3 separate regions of the Homo sapiens genome follow, and regions 2 and 3 are each linked to region 1. The links are contacts of gene promoters, found by promoter capture Hi-C in human tissues and cell types (Jung and others, 2019). All regions are on one chromosome and are shown on one strand. Each heading gives the region's core, a stretch centred on a gene start or on the middle of the fragment in contact. The rest is flanking DNA. Distances are from core to core; before and after follow the strand shown.

Region 1 (4,879 bases), core at 1,070-3,569:
TTCTTTTATAACAGTTTTATTGGAATATAGTTATTGACATACCATAAAATTCACTCTTTAAAAGCATACAGTTCAATGGGAAACTATCTTATTTATTCTGGCATCGTCTATAGCTGTGGTTCTCAGTCTTGGGTGCACACTGGAATTACTGGAAGAGCTTTAAAAAATCCTTCAGTCTGGAAAAAAAAATCCTTCAGTCTGGATCTCCCCTTCAGAGGTTCTGGCTTAATTGGTTTGGGGTGTGGCCTGGGGATGGGAACTTTTTTAAGCTCCTAGGATGATTTTAACTTGTAGCCGGGGTTGCCCTAGAGTGCTCTGTTCATAGCAGGCACCCAAGAACTGTCTGTTGTAATCATCAATTAGCTTTAACTTCTAGTATCCAGTTAATTAACTCACTCAAAAGTGGCCGTCTGTCTCCCCAATAGCCCATCAGCTCTTATCACATAATGGTCTGCTTATATCTGTCTCCCCAACTCAGCAGGAAAGGAACACTATGAGACAAAAGCATGTAGAAAAGGTAAGTTCACTTGCAAAGATGTGCAGACTTAGTAGGACTGGATCACTGAATAAGAAATACAACAGATATTAGACCGCGAGCGGTGGCTCACGCTATAGGCGTGAGCACGTGAGCACTTTGGGAGGCCGAGGCGGGTGTATCACGAGGTCAGGAGTTTCGAGACCAGCCTGGCCAAGTTGGTGAAACCCTGTCTCTACTAAAAATACAAAGATTAGCTGGGCGCGGTGGCGGGCGCCTGCCCCAGCTACTCGGGAGGCTGAGGCAGGAGAATCGCTTGAATCCGGGAGAGGGAGGTTGCAGTGAGCCAAGATTGCGCCACTGCACTCTAGCCTGGGCGACAAAGTAAGACTCCGTCTCAAAAAAAAAAAAAAAAAAAAAGAGAGAGAGAAAGAAATACAATAGATATTAAAGGAAAAAATGTAAAGGAAAAATTACCACATTTACATTTGTCTTTTCAGCATAGATGACATGCTCACGTTGAGGAATGTGTGTCACAAGAATTGTGTGTGACATATCCCCAAATTTCCACATTCAAAAGTCAGGGATAATATGGTATTCATCCGGGAATCAGTAACTCATGGGAAAAGCTCAAGATGTCATTCACTTTGGAGACCAGATGTAAAGGAGTAGTATGGGTACTTTGTCTCAGGGTGGAAAGTGTCTGTTATGGTTTTCTTCCTTCCCATGGGACTTGTTGCACACTCTTACAATGGCGGCAGGACCGGCACGCTTGCTTGCACAGCTGTGAGCTGCATGAAGGCAGGGATGGTTTTGGTCTTATCCGTTATGGCATCCCCTTGTGGCAAGTTAGGTGTTCAATAAATATCGGTGGAATGCATGTGATTACACTTCATGCCACAGTATATAAATATGATTTTAACTGGACAGGGAACTGCAAAAGTTTCCCATATTGATCCTTTTTGCAATCTTAATTATGGTACTCTGAGCTGGGATATTGCCTAAACTGTCTGGGCTACAACAAACTCTGAAGGGGCTTTTACTTCCACGTCCATAGTGGTTGAGGGTTCGCGTTGTGTGAACGCTGGAGCCTCACGTGAGTAGCTGAGTAGCGAGGATGGTCACTCCCAGATAAACGAATACAGGATTCTCGCGGCTGGGAGCGGTCGCCCGGCGAGGTCGGTCATTCTGCCTGTCCGGTAGCACCACGAAACACCTGCCACTGACACCTCCCCACCAGCCCCCGAGGGTTCGCGCAGGCATCCCGAGCCGCGCCCCCTGGTCCGCCGCAGCCAGATTCCCTCCCGGGCGGGTTACGCCCCTAGGCGCAAAACGGAACCACTCCGTATGAAGAAGACAAAGTATAACCAGTCACACCAAAGAGAGGCAGCATTATTTAGACAGCCGGCTACTCCCCCAGAGACTCCACCCAGTCCCCTGGGCCCGGCGTCCAGCGCGCAGACGGTGCCCGGCTCCAGGAGTTCCAGCTCCCTCCACGTGTCCTGTCTTCCCAGCAGCCTCCTCTGCCGCCTCGGGAGGAAAATCTCCTGACAACTCGCGGTCTGCGGACTACGACTCCCAGGAGGCGCCGCGCCGCGGCTCTCCCCGCCCCCCCCCGCCCCCCCCCCCCTCCCCGGGACGCGCAGGCGCCTTGGGCTCCGTCAACAAGCCGGGCTGGCGTCGCCTGGATGCGGTTTCTTCCGGGATTTGTAGTTTTTCTGGAGCTACCCGGGCCGTCTGTTAGAGGGACAAGAACTACAAGTCTCGGCTGCCCCAGCGCTGCGAGCCTGGTCACGTGGCGGGGGCCGACCGGGCGTGCGTGCCGCCGTTGATCCGGTGCTGCAGTGAGGAGGTGGTTCTTGCCCGTGTTGTGTGTGTGTGTGAGTGAGAGAGCGAGTGAGTGAGTGAGTGAGTGTGTGTGTGGGGGGGACTCGGCTTGTTGTTGTCGGTGACTTCCCCCTCCCCTTCACCCCTTCCCCTCCCCGCCGCCGCTGCAGTGGCCGCTCCCTGGGCCGTAGGAAATGAGCGATAACGATGACATCGAGGTGGAGAGCGACGTGAGTCCTGGGGCTTCTTCCTTCCCGTGCGGGTTGTCAGGCGGGGACAGCGGCCGGGGCTCTTAGCGGGGCGACGGCGGGAGGGGGCCGGGCTGCCGCCGCCTCCTTCCCCTTCCCCTCGGGGCCAGGAGTGCCTCCGTCGCGTTCCCGGTTCGCTCCCCTCCGGCTCCTGGCCGGAGCGGCCTCCTGGGACTGGAGGTTGGGGGAAGACACGCGGCTTCTGGGACCCCCACCTCCTCCCTTGCGGGAGGGTGCTGCGGCCTCCCGCTCCCACCTTCCCCGGCTCAGGATCCGGGGGACAAGGATGGGGGGCGCCCGGGATCCCATTGTCCGGATCCAGGGGAAGGGGACGGCGTTCAGGACCTGCCCCTTCGGACTGCGATCCTCTCCTCCCGTGACCCGCGGATCCTGGGGGCCGGGGAAGGGCGGAGAGGGGTTGGGGGTGCCTAGATGCCCGAGCTGGGTCTGCAGGGAGGAGACAGTGCTCGGGACCCCTCTGGCCCAGGTCGGATCCCGGAAGGAGGGGCGGCGCTCGGGACCCCTCTACCCTGCTACCGGATCCCGCCGAGGGTGGAAGGGTGGGGGCAAGGGGTGGGGAGGGAGGAAGGGGTGTCGGGCTGACTCCCCACCCTCCGCTTCCTCTGCCGCCGGCATTTTCTTTCTTATTATTGAATGTTAAGTGTAAAAATAACTTCTATATTTTCTATTTTTTTTTTTCTCTCTTATTCCAGGAAGAGCAACCGAGGTTTCAATCTGCGGTACGTCTCCTACTCTCCATTTCATTTTTATTTCCGTTCAGTTCTATTCCTTTTTGGGGTCAGAGAGAAAAAGAGATCGTACTATTACTTTTAATATTGTAGTAAACTCTAATGTTAACCACTAAGGTGAGGTGGGGCCTGGTTCTGGAGGGTGGGGGGGTTGCAAATCCCATTATTCTAGATTCTCAGGTGATAAGTTCAGTGATTCTAGGTGAGTAAGAGGAGCTGTATGCAAAGAATTGAATTGTTCTGTAGTTTTCAGATAGGGGATCCAGATGCCACTATGTAAGTGGAAATGAGAAATGCAGCATTCTGGTCTGGTAGTATTATTTCAGGGCAAAGTGGTCAGAAGATTTATTTAGGAACAAGTAGGTTTTAAACCATATCTGTATAATTGTGTGAAGCTGAAGCCACATGCGGTAATCGCCTTTAACCAAGTCATGTGACTGCTATAGACCCGTAGAATCTAGCACAACATGGTATTCTAATGCAAAAATTGGAAATGTAGAGGAGCCAAACGTTACATCATCAAAGTGTCACATAAAGTTATTATGGTCTGATTCTCTGTATTTGAAGAAAAGGTATAAAGAAAATTAAAAAATAGCTGAAGAAAAGTGGCATTGCAGAGACAGCTTTGCTGAAAGGTGATGGATGAGACCATAGAGTGTTATCAATAATTTCTTAGGGTTTTGATATTAATGTTCTCAGTAGATGGTTCTGTGGATTTAGATAAGCACTAATTCCATGTCTTTGGAGTCTGAGACAGTAATATGGATGTTTCATGAATAGATTTGAGGGAAAAAAGAATACACACAGAATAAATCAGAATCAGCGAGGGGAAGAGAAATAAGTATATCAGAGTGTCTAATATTTGATAGTTGGGAGCAGTAAGAAATGTATAGAATGGGGGTAAAAAGTTCAAATGCCCATGAGGGCCATAAAGAATAAAGAAGGAAGAGGTGAGGGCTTGGGTACTGGAGAGCAGTGCCTCTTCTAAAAAGTCAGCACTACTGAACTCCAGTGGTTTGTTAGTAGGAGTGAAGGGTCAGTATTGCCAGATCTTCCTATTTTTAATTTTATTTTATTTATTTATTTTTGAGACAGAGTCTCACTCTGTCACCAGGCTGGAGTGCAATGGCGCTATCTCGGCTTACTGCAACCTCCGCCTCCTGGGTTCAAGCGATTCTCTTGCCTCAGCCTCCCGAATAGCTGGGACTACAGGCGCGTGCCACCACACCCAGCTAATTTTTGTATTTTTAGTAGAGACGGGGTTTCACCATGTTGGCCAGGCTGGTCTCGATCTCTTAACCTCGTGATCTGCCAGCCTCGGCCTCCCAAAGTGCTGGGATTACAGGCATGAGCCACCACGCCCAGCCGATCTTCCTATTTTTTAAGAAAGATTAGAAATCTAAAACTTTATGTTATTTTTCTGATTTTTAAAATGATGTGTGGAACAACTGTTTGGGGGCTTGTTAGAATTTGCAGGATGTCACTTTGATACCTCTGGTATAAGAACTTGATAACCACAGGGTAAAGGCAAGCCATCTCAGTTATACCTGCTCTTCATTAGAGCAAGCAAAGATTGTGCA
Region 2 (4,879 bases), core at 738-3,237, 970 kb before region 1:
TTTTACATATAAGTTATCATAGGGTGTGTCAGTCTGCAGCTTGATTTTTGTTCACTCAACAATAGGTCTTGGGGATCTTTCCATGTCAGTACACATAGTATATATATTTTAAAACACTGCTATATATATATAATATATATTATTTATGTATTTTATATATATTAGATATTATATATAATATCTAATATATATAAATATTATATATAATATATAAATAATATATAATATATAAATAATATATATAAAATATATATATGATGAATGAATTATAGTTTATTTAACCAACCCCATTTTTATGCTAATTTCAGTTATTTCTGCACCTAACATTTGATATTTTGCAAACAAAGCTGCCACAAACTTGCTGGGCACATGGGTAAAGTGTTTTTCTGGGGTAGATATGGAGAAGTGGACTCACTGGATCAGAGTATGAATATTTTGCATTTTTTAGATATTGCCAAATTTCTCTGCAAAGTGATTATACCAGCTTATGATCCTACCTAGAGAGTAAAGAATATCTTTTCTCCCATGCCCTTTTTAATTTTTTCTAATTTAGCAGGTTAAAACAAAATCTCTCTCTGATGTTTGAATTTCTATTTTCCTGATTACTGGTAAGACAGAGTATTATTGTCATGCACTTATGGGCCACTTATATTTTCTTTTCTGTGAATTACAATTTTATATCTTTAGAATATTTTTCTGTTGGATTTTTGTTTGTTTTCTTTTCAATCTGTAGAGGTTCTTTATATAATCTAGATACTTATCCTTTGTTACAAGTATTTTCTCCTTTTGTCTTTTAATTTTGCTCATGTTGTCTTCTGTCACACAAAAGTTTTTGTTTTTGATGTAGTCAAATGTATCAGTTTTTTGTGTGTGTTTTGTTTCTCGTGTCGTTTAGAAATCTTTTTCCACATCAAATCATAAAAAATCCTCCCACCTCCTACTCAAATTTTTTTCGTCTAAGACCTTAATGAGAGAAGCTTTCTAGGTAAGTCAGTCCCTACCTATGTTGCAGGTGTATCTGCAACCAGGTAGAAGGAGTGAAGGTCCCTTTCTCTGGAACCCGGCAGGACCCCTCAGGGAGGATGGAGCAGTCCCAATAGTTTCCAGCAGAGGGCAGTGTCTGAGCGGGTCTTCCTCTACTGGGACCCTGAGGGTTCCCTGCCTCACCAAAGGGAACAGGTAACTACTCTGAAATTAGCAGGTCTTGGGGAGGGGAGCATGTATCTGGTCACGGAAAAGACCAGGAGCAAAGTCTGTTTCTGCGTGTGTTCCACAGTGGTGTGGGAAACCACGGGGAAAGTGTGCTGTTGGACTCTTTTATCTGCATATGGAAAGAGAGAAGACTGGAGTGAGCCAGGATCATAGCCGGCTTTCTCCAAGGGAAGCTTCGAGGCCGGCTTCAATCTGGTCAGCACACCTGAGATAAAAGCTTAGGTTTTACAGAGAACACGTTATTTACCAGACAAACAACAGGCAAGATGGAAACATGCAATCCCCAAGCTTATTCTTTTGATTTCATCAATAATTCAAGCCCTGTCTCCTTTGGTGGAGGAGTGGGGAGAGGAGGAAGAACAAAAGAGCCCCGTGGCCAGAGGCACAGCTGACTTCAGAGGGGAAACCGAGGAAACAACAGACAGCTCTGTTCAGCACAGTTCCCTCCCCACCTCACCCCAGGCACATCCCGGGCTAGCAGCTCTGTCTTCCGTTGGTTGTTTAATACTAGCAACATGCGCTATACTGTATCATTATGAAACCAAGACTGCCTTGGCAGTGAAACTCACAGACCCATATAAATATATTAATCTGCCTAGATTTGCAAATCTGAACCAGTTTCTTGGCCCACCCATGTGCTGGGTTTTCTCTGCTTGCCCCCATGTGTCCACTTTGCACCTTTCTCTGAACTTGCTCTGTGCCCGGGAGGCTGCCTGTGGGGTGAGTCAGTGCGCTCCAGGCTCATCAGTTTCTGCTTTGGGTGGACCAATGGGAGACACCTGTGGTTGAGGTCTGGGAATTTGCCTTCCAGGATCTCTCCTGGTTGAACTGTAGTTGGCAGTGGATCCATTCTTCTGCAGATTCAAGGCAGCTTCCTGCCACACTTGGACAAACAACCACCCACTCTCTCCTCTTTTCATTTCATGCCTTGGGGTGTTGGTGGTTTCTGGATAGTTTGTGCTTCACTATCCCTCACTGGCTTCCCTTTTCCCTGCTCACAGCCTTAGAAATAGTTCCTTCATTCATTTCTCTTCAACCTTCTCTTCTGAGTGTACTGTTTGATTCCTGCCCGAACCCTGAAGAAAACAGAAACCTAAATCTGTCTTAATTCTTCATCCTGAAACAGATCAAGCATACAATTAAAATTTTACTGTAGTTTTGGATTCTCTTTTCCACACAATCTCCAAGCCCAGGGTGGCTGCTGCCCTCGCACCTTTCCAAAAGACGGCACAAGAAGTCATTGCAAACCTGCCTGAAAGACTCCTCCGGCTGCATTCCTTTTCTACAATTCTCTAGTGTTGATTTATCAAAGACCCCTTTCCTCAGGCTCACAAAAATGTCCCATTGCTATAAATACTCTTCAATCCAGTTCTAAACTTTAAAGGCAAACAACCTGGAAGATGAAAGGATCATAGGAACCAATTTGGATGCCTGGAGGTTTGACTAATTCATTAAGGGATGGTTGCAGAAAGTTACTGGATATGTAAACTGCATTTATATGCAGCTCTCCTCTTCAGGGACAGGATTGTTGTTCTGTAAGCCAAATAGTTGCAATAAGCTGGCATTCCAAGTAGATGAGGCCACTTAGTGTTCATCTCTCCACAAGGCATACATTGAGTAAGTGAACTGGGTCCCCCAAGTCCCGCTTCCCTTCTCCTACCACCTACTGGTGAAGATGTAAATGAACAAAGCCCAGAGATTGCAATAGGAGGAACAAACCCTAATTAACACATTGGATAACGCAAATAACTGAGAGCTGTTTGGACACCTACTTTAATTAACTGCTAAGTGAGTCTTACTCCCTGCAGACTGTCCTAGTTTTCATCATGTGTTCTTTCTGGGTGCATCTCTTCTACATCTGTAGCTAAGTGACTGCCTCTCTTCCTGTCCAGCTCTCACTCCATTTTCAGCCCAGCCTAGTGACTAAGAGATTCCCTGGACACCTTACCAATGTCCAATCCATATCCAAAGCCTAAGGATGTCATCCAAGTCTCTCCTTGATCTGCACTCCTCTGCTCACCTCTACCACCAGCACTTGGTCCTAGGCCCCTGGACAACTGCAACAGCTTCATAGTTGCTTATACTCCTGAATCAGCACTTCCCTCTCCATGGCACAGCCAGAGTAAGCTTTACAACATGGAAATCTGTCCCTGATACTCTCCTACTTAAAATCCTTTGAAGGCTCCTCATCACTTTTAGGATAAACACTCAAAGCTTTACAAACCTGTGGCCTAGTCCTGCCCACCACTTCTGTGCCCATCTGATGCCACCTCCCTCTGTCATGACCTGAGTCTCTTTATGGTGCTTTTCTCTGATCCTTAAACTTGCCATGCTCTGTCTCAGCTCATGTCCTTTTTCTTTGCCTGTGATGCTCTCCTTACCACCATGAACACTTGCCTTTGCCTAGTTAACTCCTGTGCATTCTTCAGAACCCAAACTCCAACAGTCTCCTTCCTTAAAGGAGCCTTCACTGACCTGAGACTAAGCCAGGTTCCCTGTCACACAATCCCCCAACATGGCCACATGTTGTGGTGACTATATACTTAAAAAATTGAGGCTTATCTCCTCCACTAGAATGTACACTCCTTGAAGTTGGGAGTCGTGTCTTTGTGCACCTGGCGTTGTGTCTGGCATCTAGGCCTGTCTCAGCAAAGACTTGTTGAATGAATGGATGGACACTATTGTGCTCTTTCTTTTAATATCAGCGGGTGGTGAGGGCACCACCACAGACTGAAGAAACGGAGGTCCTCAGTCTGGAGAGATGTAGGTGTGGTACTGATCAGAGTGGGAGGTGGACTGTGTTGTTGTCTGACAGCTGACAATTCTCGGATTTTGTGGACTAGGAGGGTATCCACACGTTCTTGCCTCTTCTGTCTGTGTAGATACTCTCTCCCATCTGGCTCTATCTTGTGCCAGTGTTGTGTACATGCCCACCCACACCCCCAGCCTGTGACCTGGGAGAGCCCCACCAAAGCCCCCCTTCCTTGTGGCTTCATGCCCTTGTTTATTCTTGGGCTGGGAAACCTGAGTCTTCCATTCCCAGGCCTGCTTCTGATCATATACAATGCAGTACTAAAAAGCCAGTTGGTCTCCTGGAACTTCTTTCTTCCCATTAGTTGTTGGCAATGCAAATGAAGGATTAAATCACAAGCAAGACAGACTTTTTGTTCAGAAGCTTGAGTTTTAAGAACCGTCCCCAGGGAAATCAAATGGAAGGGGGAAAACCAAGTATACAAGGCCTTCCTTCCATTCCCCCAAATGTCAGCCAAGAGTGCAGCCTAAGGGATGAGTCAGAAGTAGGGGAGCCAGGGCTTGGAAAACTGATTGTCTATACCAGGGCTTTTCATACTTTAGCATGCATCAGGATCACCTGGAGGGCTTGTTAAACACAGATGGTGAGGGCCCACCCCTAGAGCTTCTGATTCAATTGGCCTGGGGTGGGGCTCAAAAATTTGTGTTTTCAAAGTAGGTAATGCCGATGCTGCTGGTCTCTGGGGCCCCATACCTTGAGAACCACAGCACTACACTGTAGTCTCTCCCCACGTGTTCTAACTCAGTGCCTCTCAAACTCCAACGTGTATTCCACTCCCCTGAAAATGTTAGCGCACAGGCTCTGATGGAGGAGGTTGGAGTGCAGCTGGAGTTTCCGCTTTATTAACCAGCTCCC
Region 3 (4,879 bases), core at 680-3,179, 740 kb before region 1:
TTACAAGACAAAGCGGGGAAGCTTGCACACATGGCACAGTGCCATAGCAATACAGTGAAAAAATAGATGGAAAAGACCTATCAGCATGAGGGTTGCAGCTTATGAGAGGCAGAAAATAGAAAATGTAAGGGGTCATCAAGAAAATCCTCACTGTCATGGTCTCCACATGGACCGCTTGAATCAAAATTAACTCAAAACCCAGATGCTATGTGTACTAGAGACACATCTGCCAAGTCAAGAAGGAAATGTCTCTCCCTCAGAGGACAGAGCTGAGGGGAGCATCCCTCCCTAAGGTGGGGTTCCTGGACCCCAGGAGCATCGTGGGCCTGGAGCCAGGGGAAGGTCAGGAGAGCAGAGGCACCATATTCAACTGAGCAAATGCCACAGTGACATTTGCAGGCACAATCATGTAAATGTTATTTACTGTGAGAAATGCATTTCTCAGGCAGATGCTTCCCACCATCTATTCACTTGGCTGCCTCAGAAAGAAGCGATTCTTTGCTCAGCCTCCCAGGTGGGTGTTGGTGTGTCAGGGGTCCTGGGATTGAGACTTGGCAGTCAACCTACAGGTGTAGCTAAAATCCTCCTCTTGGCTGGTGAAATGGGCTTCTGCCCCAGGAGTGGCAGGGCCTGAACTTGTAGCCTTTGAAGGATGCATCAATCCCCTCCTTCCAGGTCAGCCCCATGACTCTACTGAGAAGGGAAGTGAGGCTTTGGGTAGAAGCTGCTGCCTTGGTGAAACCAGCATCAGAGCTCAGGGATGCAGCAGGGTTACAAAAAGATGAGAAAGTGACACAGAGACAAACAAAGCAGCCAAACAACAAGCAGCCGGGGTCTGTGAGGCAAAAGGAGATTGCTGCCTGTTCAAAAGCCCTCGCTTCTCATTGCCTACTGGGCAGCCCTATTCATCCAGCATGACTTTTATGTTTTCAGTCCCCTTGGCAGAACAGAAATGTAGGGTCAGAGGCTCTCCAGTCCTTGGCTGGACCAGGTATCAGGTGGAAAAATAAAGTCTGCTAAACAAAGAAATCCACAGCATGACTTTCAATGCTACCTGGGCTGGCCCCATACCATTCAATGGAAACAACCAGAACCCACTAGAATCCTCTGAGAAATATATTTGTTGCAGTCCTACCAAAGTAAGGTGATAAAGTTTAAAAGCCACTGCACCTGGAATTGAATACCTAGAAAGGCAGCACAGTGGAAAGAAAATGAGACATCAGTGGTTGATATTCCAGCCCCACCACTTGCCTATAGATCCCTTAACCACACTGAGCCTCCATTTCTTCATTTGTAGAATGAGGATATTAACATCCTCCTTTTTAACTCACCTGATGGATGTAGGGATTGTGCGTGGCGATGACCACTACAGCATTTTTGAAATAGTAAAGGTTATATCATGCTAAGGTATTTATGGCACTGTTTCAGATCTTCTGCTACTAAAGATTTGAGAGACCCCGATGATGAGGTCTCAGGAGAGATGTACAACCTAGGGACATTTAGCGAGGACACCCAGGCAATGCCTAATTACCTGCTAAACATGGTAGAGAAAAAATGGCCACAGCCGTTCAGAAAATCAAGTGATGACTGGTCTATGGGGTATAGTTTCAGAGAGGGGTTGGGAGTTGAGTCAGTTCTTGCAAATTTATATAATGACACCGTTAAAGAACCCAGATAAACACAAAGCATGTAGTGGCTTTATTAGAGGGTAGAGAGAAGTTATCTGTGCCCCCAAGTTGGCAGGGTATCTGTGAAGCTAAGCCTACATCTCCCCCTTATGAAATGGCCTCTAGATGTCTTCTGCTGACCCCACTTACCTTTTAGATGAGAGATAATGAACCACAAAAGAGCCCTCCAACCCCTCATTTCCTCATACTCCTTTCCTTAGGTTTTTCCTCCAAGGCCCCAATGTTAAGAAAAATGTTCTACAATTAAAAATTCAAGCAGTAATCCAGGCACTCCAATCTACTTTGTAGGACAGAGTGTAAATGATAGAAAAATAAGTGTATGTCATTACCTTTTCCCTACTTATTACTTATTCAAAATATAAATGGCTGCCAATCAGCTCTTCAGATTAGCATGAGATCACCAGTGTCACCGCACTGAACTAATAGGATAATCCTTTCTTTAAAAGTTTATTTTTGTAGAGATGGGGTCCCACTGTGTTGCCTAGGCTGGTCTCGAATTCCTGGGCTCAAGTGACCCACCCACCTCAGCCTCTCAAAGTGCTGGGATTATAGGTGTGAGTTATCACACCAAATTAATAGTATCATTTTAACCAAAGAGCAGAGAAACTTGGCATTTTTGTTAGTAAATACATTATCTGTGTAAATGTACAATTTCCAAGAGATTTTCTGAAATACTGAAAAGAGTTCGAATATCTGATGGGACCTGAAACCTCAGATTTTTAGGTTGGCAATCACTTTTCTAGAAGGTAGTTTATAATCCACCTGCCATGACAAGGAAGTTAAAAATAAATTGCCTTGACCAACTTTGAGGCTTAGAAGTGAAATGAAGGTGACCAGAAAAGCATCCACGCTGTTCATCTTGGCTCTTCCTCCTTATTTCCCGCGTGCTTCAGAGCGGGACCCTCCGCCATCGGCCCCGTGGGTTTCTTCCAAACGGGACTCAGTGGTGGGCCCTCAGCCATGAAAAGCTCTTCACTCAGAAGAAGCCTGGACGTGTACTCATTGGTTGTCAGGAACTGTTCAATTGCCCCACCCCCACCATTAGCCCTGCTACCCTCATTCCCCAGCCACGTGCCTCACTTCATCTCAGCCCCAGACGGGAGTCCATGCTGAGCTTCTTCGAGGCCAGGGCATCTGGGCAGGAAGGGAAATGGCTGGACCAACCCCTAGTCCAACCCATTCATTGGGCTGACTTGCCCAAAACCATAAGGCTCACTGGGGCTGAACTGAGCCTGGCATTGGGTTTTCCTGCCTCCTAATCCAATTCCCTTTCTGTTTCTTCTTTGGAAGGCAGAATTTGTAATGTATTGGTGTGAAATAAAACTAATCTCAGAAATTCCACCATGGTTTTCACAAAGCAGTGTTGTAACAACAGAAGGTTTAAGGCCTAAGGAAGAATACTGGAAAATAAAACTTGGTGAGTAAGAATGCACTGGACCATCTCCAGCAAACATCAAAACAGAAAGTACTCTGAATTCCAAAGACTGGTATCCATAAACCAGGCAGAGAGATCTCTAGAGAAGAGTTGTTTGCCAGTGGAAATGTCCTTTGAGCAACTTCCCTATCTGCCATGTTGTGTGGTCTCCTGGGCAGACCACCTGCCAGGAGGATTACCATGCAGGTGGCTGGAACGGGTCCCCCTGTATACTAACATCTGCTTGTGGAGGTCTTGAATCCTCTTGTGAGATCAATAGGCATTCTTTCCCTGGGATCAATCCCCCATAGATACTCTGGTAACAGAGCTTCTGAATTCCCAGCACCAAGACCCAGCCCTGAGGAGCAAACTCGAGAACAGGGCCAAGGCAGCCCTTCAGCCGCTGTCTTCTGCAAGCCTTATCTGCACTGGGAGGCCCTTAGCACCAAGGACTGGGGAGGGAGGCAGCAGACTGCAGGGGGTAAGGGTGTGAGCTTTGGTGCTGGGAGTCTGGCGATAGCTGTGTGATCCAGCAAGTAGCTCAGCCTCTCTCAGTCTCAGGGTCCCCATCTACAAAGCTTGGTGGGGGTATAATAATAATACCTATTTATGAGGGTCATTGTGAGGATTAAATGGTGCTTAGCATGGCAGCTGGCACATTGTAAACACTCCATAAATGTTTGCTGTTGCTATTAATACCAGGCAGGCTTCCACCACGTTGCTTTGGCAAGGACACTGCATTGCGCTTTGCAGTACTCAAAGACAGCCCTCTCTTTTCAACACTCTGTCCTTCAGCACCCTGGCCTGGGACCTCCGGAGCCCCCAGGATGTCATTTGCCTAGACTTTACAGGACAGGATCAAAGGACATCCTGCTAGCACAGTGGTATTAAACCCACATGACCAGCCCATGGGCTTGCCTGTCTCAATGGGGGACTGGAAGCTTAGAACTTCAATTGCTTATAAATGGCAACAGATCAGGAAAGCAAACCAATGCACCCTCTGTCACTGTGGTTATTCCAAGAAAAGGAAATCCTCTGATGGTCAAGGGGGAGTCCTTGATGCTAACCTCTGTTCTGGCAAATCCCAGGGTGCGGGGAACCAATGCGTTGGAGATCCAAGATGTAATGGGAGAAGAAGTGTGATTGAGGACTGACCCAGGCTCTCCCATCTCTTCCTCTCCTCTCCCAGAGGGAATTTTGGTTGGAAAACATTGATTTAGCATCAAAACGCTGGTTTAATGAAGGCTCCTAGAGAGAGCTGGGGCAGCTGTGACTCCACAGCCCTCTCAGAGAAAGGGGAGCTGACAAAAGGCCCCAGAGCATTATTTCCTGTTACTTTCTGGAAGCTTCCAAAACAGTCAAGCAATTATTTATTTGCAAAACTCAGGAAAAAAAAACAGAGAAAGAGAATTTCTAAGAAAACAGGATTCCTTCTGCAGAAAAGCAGGAACAAGATGAGCTAAGAGCATGGAGGGTACAATTAGAATAGATGATCTGTACTTTACAGAGGAGGAAACTGAGGTTGAGAAAGACAAGGCATGTTTCCCAAGATCACAGCCAAGCAGAGGCAGACATGAACTAATAATAGAAATAACAGCAGCCACATCTGTCTAGAGCTTCACACATTTCAGTCTTGGTATTCAGGGCTTTACATGGACCTTGAGAAAGTTATTTAATCTCTCCATGCTTCAGTTTCCCCATCTATAAAATGGGGATGATAATAATAATGCCTATTAAAACTTGTAGGGTTATTGTAAGGATTTAAAGAGTCCACCCT

The links. Contacts are between HindIII fragments. The study calls those that stand out against the background at their distance.
Region 2: a contact is called between a fragment that was not itself captured here and the fragment with the promoter of MAX in region 1, in 1 of the 25 tissues and cell types used here (dorsolateral prefrontal cortex).
Region 3: a fragment that was not itself captured here is called in contact with the fragment with the promoter of MAX in region 1 in 1 of the 25 tissues and cell types used here (dorsolateral prefrontal cortex).

What each region holds. Positions count from the first base shown.
Region 1 is chr14:65,099,957-65,104,835 of GRCh38, reverse strand. It overlaps MAX (MYC associated factor X), which reads left to right and starts at 2,319. Exons shown (of 5, transcript NM_002382.5): 1 at 2,319-2,532; 2 at 3,264-3,290. The coding sequence starts at 2,497. RefSeq lists enhancers at 1,905-2,054, 2,748-3,248 and a silencer at 2,385-2,734. The HindIII fragment of the contact is 28,413 bases long and covers 1-4,879 here.
Region 2 is chr14:66,067,149-66,072,027 of GRCh38, reverse strand. No RefSeq gene overlaps it. Among named protein-coding and RNA genes, the nearest start is that of LINC02290, 42 kb to the left of the region's middle. The HindIII fragment of the contact is 3,840 bases long and covers 68-3,907 here.
Region 3 is chr14:65,839,238-65,844,116 of GRCh38, reverse strand. No RefSeq gene overlaps it. Among named protein-coding and RNA genes, the nearest start is that of LINC02290, 270 kb to the left of the region's middle. The HindIII fragment of the contact is 4,634 bases long and covers 1-4,246 here.